Regions from separate parts of the Homo sapiens genome. Here region 1 is linked to region 2. Evidence: promoter capture Hi-C in 16 types of primary human blood cells and fetal thymus (Javierre and others, 2016). All regions are on one chromosome and are shown on one strand. The core of a region is centred on a gene start or on the middle of the fragment in contact, and the rest is flanking DNA. Distances in the headings are between cores, read along the strand shown. Region 1 overlaps LOC102723944 (a long non-coding RNA gene). Region 2 holds the start of WRNIP1 (WRN helicase interacting protein 1).

What was found. The method cuts DNA at HindIII sites, captures the fragments that hold promoters and counts their contacts. A CHiCAGO score of 5 or more calls a contact.
Region 1: a contact is called between a fragment that was not itself captured here and the fragment with the promoter of WRNIP1 in region 2, in 1 of 17 cell types (total CD4 T cells). The highest score is 6.6, in total CD4 T cells.

The regions. Positions count from the first base shown.
Region 1 is chr6:1,529,974-1,532,904 of GRCh38, forward strand. All of the region lies in intron 2 of LOC102723944 (a long non-coding RNA gene), which reads right to left. Among named protein-coding and RNA genes, the nearest start is that of FOXCUT, 74 kb to the right of the region's middle. The HindIII fragment of the contact is 2,893 bases long and covers 2-2,894 here.
Region 2 is chr6:2,764,034-2,766,858 of GRCh38, forward strand. It overlaps WRNIP1 (WRN helicase interacting protein 1), which reads left to right and starts at 1,360. Exons shown (of 7, transcript NM_020135.3): 1 at 1,360-2,411. The coding sequence starts at 1,590. It also overlaps a transcript of MYLK4 not described here. RefSeq lists enhancers at 1-804, 902-1,196 and silencers at 651-740, 1,121-1,170, 1,331-1,790, 1,961-2,280. The HindIII fragment of the contact is 13,290 bases long and covers 1-2,825 here.

The sequences.
Region 1 (2,931 bases), core at 198-2,697, 1.2 Mb before region 2:
AAGCTTGACTATGCATGTACACATGGCCAATTACCTCGCTTTTCTTCACCCTCAGTCACCTTTCCCCACACCTCAGATCACCTTGCTTCCTTATGCCATATATATCTCTAACCTGACTTTTGGGGAGGCAGATTTGAGACCTGTTCTCCTGCCTCCTTGCTTCGTAGCCTCATGGATCAACCCTTTCTTCTTTGCAAAGCCCATTGTCACAGTGATTGGCTTACTGCATGCAGGCAGAATGAGCAGGGAGACAGACCTAATACTGACCCTCCTTGAGTAAGTGGATGACTGCAGAGCTGGGATGGAAATCGAGGCACAGAGAAGGTAACAGCACCAAGATCTGTTCTAACCATCCACCCCAAACAGCTCCCCTGCCCAGAATCCCATGTGACCAAGGGCCCATGTGAACCCACGCAGAGCCCATACGAATAAAACCCTTGACATCAGCTTCTTGGGAACCAACCCGCCACCTCCTGAACCAACCAGCTACCAATTAAGCATTAGTCCCCAGAGCAGGAAGCCTGGGCACCTGCTGCATTCTTGGTGGAACCTCATCAGCCCCTGCAGGGTAATCACGCCATCCCAGGTGGCCTCCTGGGATCAGCAATCAGCGACACTCTGATAATGAAATTACTGGGCCCTGATTGCAACAAACTTCCTTGAAGATCCTGGGCCAGTCTTTCTATCTGGGTATTATGAGAGATAATCAGTTTCATCTGGTTTCGGTTCTTTTAAAACTCCCCCTTTGAAATATTCAGATCATTATCTGTAACCAGCGCCTTGCTTCAGCTTTATACAATTTGTGTTAGAGACTGTTATGTGTTCACCAAACCCCAGACAGCTTTTTAAAGAAATTTTATGCATATATAGTATAGGCATGTACATCGCTTCTATTTTTTTGCATGTGATAGCACAATATTACTTTCTTTTCACTTATTACTATCACTTATTACTTATTATTCACTTTTCACTTATTACCAATATTATTACAATATTACTATCTTTTCACTTAGCACCATGTCTTGGAGTCCTGTCTATATCAGTACATTTAGAACAGTCTTGTTCTTTTTCATGGCTGTGTAGTATCCCCATGTGGATTTACCATAATCTGTTTAACCTGCCACCCACTGATGGGCATTTAAGTTGTTCTCAGACTTCTCCTATTATGAGCAATGTTGCACATTCTTGTGAAATTATATCTGCAAGATATAGTCCTAAAGTGGGATTGCTAGGTCAAAGGGCATGTGCATTTTTATTATGGGTAGGAATTGTCCAATTGTCCTGCACAGATATTGATGCCAGTTCTCACTTAAGTTGACCATGTGTGAATGTGACTGTCTCTCCTTATGCCTATGATATTTTATCACCTGTTTAATCTTTGTTAATCTGATAAATGAAAAAAATCTCATTGAAGTTTTGAGTTGTATTTCTTTTTTTTTTTTTTCTTTTTTTTGAGATGGAGTCTCACTCTGTCACCCAGGCTGGGGTGCAGTGGCACGATCTCCGCTCACTGCAACCTCTGCCTCCCTGGTGTTCAAGCGATTCTCCTGCCTCACCCTCCCGAGTAGCTGGGACTACGGGTGCATGCCACCACACCTGTCTAATTTTTTTGTGTTTTTAGTACAGACCGGGTTTCACTGTGTTAGCCAGGATGGTCTCGATCTCCTAACTTCATGATCCACCTGCGTGGGCCTCCCAAAGTGCTGGGATTACAGGTGTGAGCCACCGCGCCTGGCTGAGTTGTATTTCTTATATTATGAGGTTGAGCATCTTTTGCTAGGCTTTAGAGGCATTGATTCTGCTTGTCTTTCAACTCTCACTTCACCCTCTTTGCCCATGTTTCTACTGGGTTCTTTCCTTACTAATTTGTAAGAACTCTATACATCAAGAGCATTAGAACCCTGTGCAGTCCAAGTTGAAGCATTTCTTTCCCCTTTGACTCAGGTATTTGGGGTATTTTGCTGTTTTGTTTGTTTTCCGCCATGTGGAAGGTTTTTTCTTTTACATACAGTCATCCCACTATGGGTCCACATCTGCAGATTCAACCAACTACAGATGGAAAATATTTGGAAAAGAAACAATTAAAAATAACAACGCAGCAATAAAAAAAATACAAATAAAAAAACTATACAGTATAACCACTATTTACATAGCATTTACATTGTATTAGCTATCATAAGTAACCCAGAGATGATTTAAAGTATACAGTTATATGTACACACTATACCATTTTATATCAGGGACTTTAACATCTGAAGATTTTGGTATCTGTGGGGGTCCTGGACCCAATTCCCCAGATACCGAGGATGAACTGTATTTATTTTCTTTTAGTCTTTTTGCACTTTTGTCATACTTTTAGCACGTATACTAAATTCTAATATGTATTTGAATGTTCTTGAACTTTATAGACTGTTCCATTGAGCTTTCGCTCCACATCAGAAACTCATTGTTTATTATTATAGCTTAATATGTGACTAATATCTGGCACAGATAGTCCCCTTCCCCTATTATTCCTTTTTTCTAGAACTTTCCTGCCTCTGCTTGCTTATGTATCTTCCCATAAGAGCCTTGGCATTAACTCCCTACATCCAAAAATATTATATTGAAATATTTAACCTATAGAAAATCGACCTGTTAATGATATCAAGTGTTATACAATAACATGGTATGTGGGTTTCTTGTTGTTCTGGGGGGTTTTGGTTTATTTGTTTGGTTGGTTGGTTGGTTGGTTTTGGTTTTGGTTTATTATTGTTATTGTTTGTTCTTGGCTAAGTCCTAAGCTAATGACTACAGGGTACAAATTTTGATCCCAGCCAACTTGCTAAAATATGTTACTGTTTGTAATTCCCTGGAAAACCCAAGAAAACCTGCTAGAATAAAATAACTATCATAGAAGCTTCAAATGACAATAGTTTACCTTCTCCTTTTAAA
Region 2 (2,825 bases), core at 110-2,609:
AGACAGCAGAATCACTGGAACCCGGGAGGCGGAGGTTGCCGTGAGCTGAGATTGCGCCATTGCACTCCAGCCTGGACAAGAGTGAAACTGCGTCTCAAAAAAATAATGAAAGCTCACGATCCTCTTTTGGTAGTTTCACGTTACATGATGATTAAAGTTTAACTTGTTTCTCTAGCGTTTCTATTAATCTTATTTTTGAGCCTAACTTTTTTAGTTAGAAACAACTCTTAACCAGCCAGCCAGGCGTGGTGGCTCAGCCTGTAACCCCAGGACGACTCCAAAGGCTAAGGCGGAAGGGTCCCGGGCGCCCAGGAGTTCAAGGCTGTGAGCTCTGGTCGCGGCCCTGCACTCCAGCCTGGGCGACAGAACGAGTGAGACCCTCAATGTGCTCTTGCCCAGATGAAATAAAAATTCAAGTTTTGGCCAAATTTCGGAAAAGTCTTCATTCTCCCTCAATTCATTTACCTCTTCTAGTTACCAAAAATGCCTGTTTTGAGATACATGTTTTAAAACGGGAGACTTAGACAAAAGCAAAAAATAACATGGTAATTCATTCAAAGATGCAGACTACCACACTTGTTTTAATCTGATATTCTTTCCATTTCTATCCGTCTAGGACGTAATTGCACACGGGCGCCTCCCATCATTTGGTTGCTAAGGAGACAGAAGGCTGGTGTTTCCGATTTGCCACTATTACACAGCGGCCCGCGAGAAGCATCTCTTGGCTCGAAGCGCGCTGTAGGTGAACCGCCCTTGACTTAAACGCCAACACATCTAAAAGGGGGCGAGGGACGCTTTATTTTCATTTCCCTGACCACTACTGAGGTGAGCATTTCTTTCACTCGCGTACTTGTTTGTATTTTTTCTGCTGTTCACGTCCAATAGAACACTGGTTTTCTATTGGAGGCTTTTGGGTTTTTTCCCCCATTTCCCTTTCGTTACAAACGACCCGCTGCGGCCGCCTCCTGCTTGTCCCCACAGGCCCATTCAACAGCCCAGCACGGAAGGCCGGGAAAGCGGCGCTCGCCGCTCCAACAACCTCGCGCAGTCCGTGGCTCCTCCCTGCCCTCGCGCGACTCGCAGGCCTGGGCGGAGGGCTGCGTCCGCCACCGCGCAACCTCGCGCACGCGCACCACGCTCGCCTCGCAACCCCCCCCCCCGCCCCTCCCCCGCCCCCGCAAAGGCTGTTCTCAGAGTCGGAAATGGACGCACGGCAGCTGGGGCGAATGGCCGCGGACTACACTTCCCGAAGTGCCGCGCGAGGTATTCTCGGCGGTGATTGGGGCAAACGGCCACGGACTACACTTACTTACATGCCGCGCGAGGCGCCTCCGCCGCCGGGGCAAACGGCCACGAACTACACTTCCCGACACGCCGCGTGAGGCGCTGCCAGCGGCCGGCCGAGGGCGGGCGGACGCGGGAGCTGCGGACGTGAGGCATGAGCGGCGCCCTCCTCCGGCCCGCGAGCGTCCTGCTGGTTCCCCGAGCGAGGGTCTCGCGGCGCGGGGCCTAGCGGAGGGCATCGAAGGCCTCCGCGTGCGCACGGGTTGCTGCGGCCGCGCCGGGCGCCGGGGAGGGCGGCGGCCGCCATGGAGGTGAGCGGGCCGGAAGACGACCCCTTCCTTTCGCAGCTGCACCAGGTGCAGTGCCCCGTGTGCCAGCAGATGATGCCCGCCGCGCACATCAACTCGCACCTGGACCGCTGTCTGCTGCTCCACCCGGCGGGGCACGCGGAGCCCGCGGCCGGGTCGCACCGCGCCGGGGAGCGGGCCAAGGGGCCCTCGCCGCCCGGCGCCAAGAGGCGGCGGCTGTCGGAGAGCTCGGCGCTGAAGCAGCCAGCCACCCCGACGGCAGCCGAGAGCAGCGAGGGCGAGGGTGAGGAGGGCGACGACGGCGGCGAGACCGAGAGCCGCGAGAGCTACGACGCGCCGCCCACACCCAGCGGCGCCCGCCTTATCCCCGACTTCCCGGTGGCCCGCTCCAGCAGCCCCGGGAGGAAGGGGTCGGGGAAGAGGCCGGCGGCCGCCGCCGCGGCGGGGAGCGCGTCTCCGCGCAGCTGGGACGAGGCGGAGGCGCAGGAGGAGGAGGAGGCCGTGGGCGACGGCGATGGCGACGGGGACGCGGACGCGGACGGCGAGGACGACCCGGGGCACTGGGACGCGGACGCTGCCGAAGCCGCCACCGCCTTCGGGGCCAGTGGCGGGGGCCGCCCGCACCCCCGGGCGCTGGCTGCCGAGGAGATCCGACAGATGCTACAGGGCAAGCCGCTGGCCGACACGATGCGTCCTGACACGCTGCAGGATTACTTCGGGCAGAGCAAGGCCGTGGGCCAGGATACCCTGCTGCGCTCGCTCCTGGAGACCAACGAAATCCCCTCGCTTATCCTGTGGGGGCCGCCGGGCTGCGGCAAGGTGAGTGCGGCCTTGGCCGTTGGGCTTCCGTAGTTATCTCGGCGGTGGATGCAGCTGATGGTCGGAGAGCCGGGTGTGCTGCCCTCGAAAGAAGCCGCCTGCCTCTCCTGGATAAGGGGGTGCAGACTTGGGCTGGGCTGGGGCAGTGCCTGGTCCACAGGTGGAGTCTGTGATGGGTGTGAAAAGGGCACACACCCCCAGATTGGTAAGGCAGGCTTGCCGGGTTTGCAAAAGGACGATGTCTGTGAATCCATAGTTTTACAAGATGTGGACTCTTAGATTTGATCTGCCTTTATCTTCCATCGGTCTCCCCGCCCCCTCCCCAGACTTTGATTTAGTAACCGAATTCGCAAGGAATCAGCATGTTTAAATTGTAAAGAAACATTTGTATATTCCGTTTGTACATAATAACGG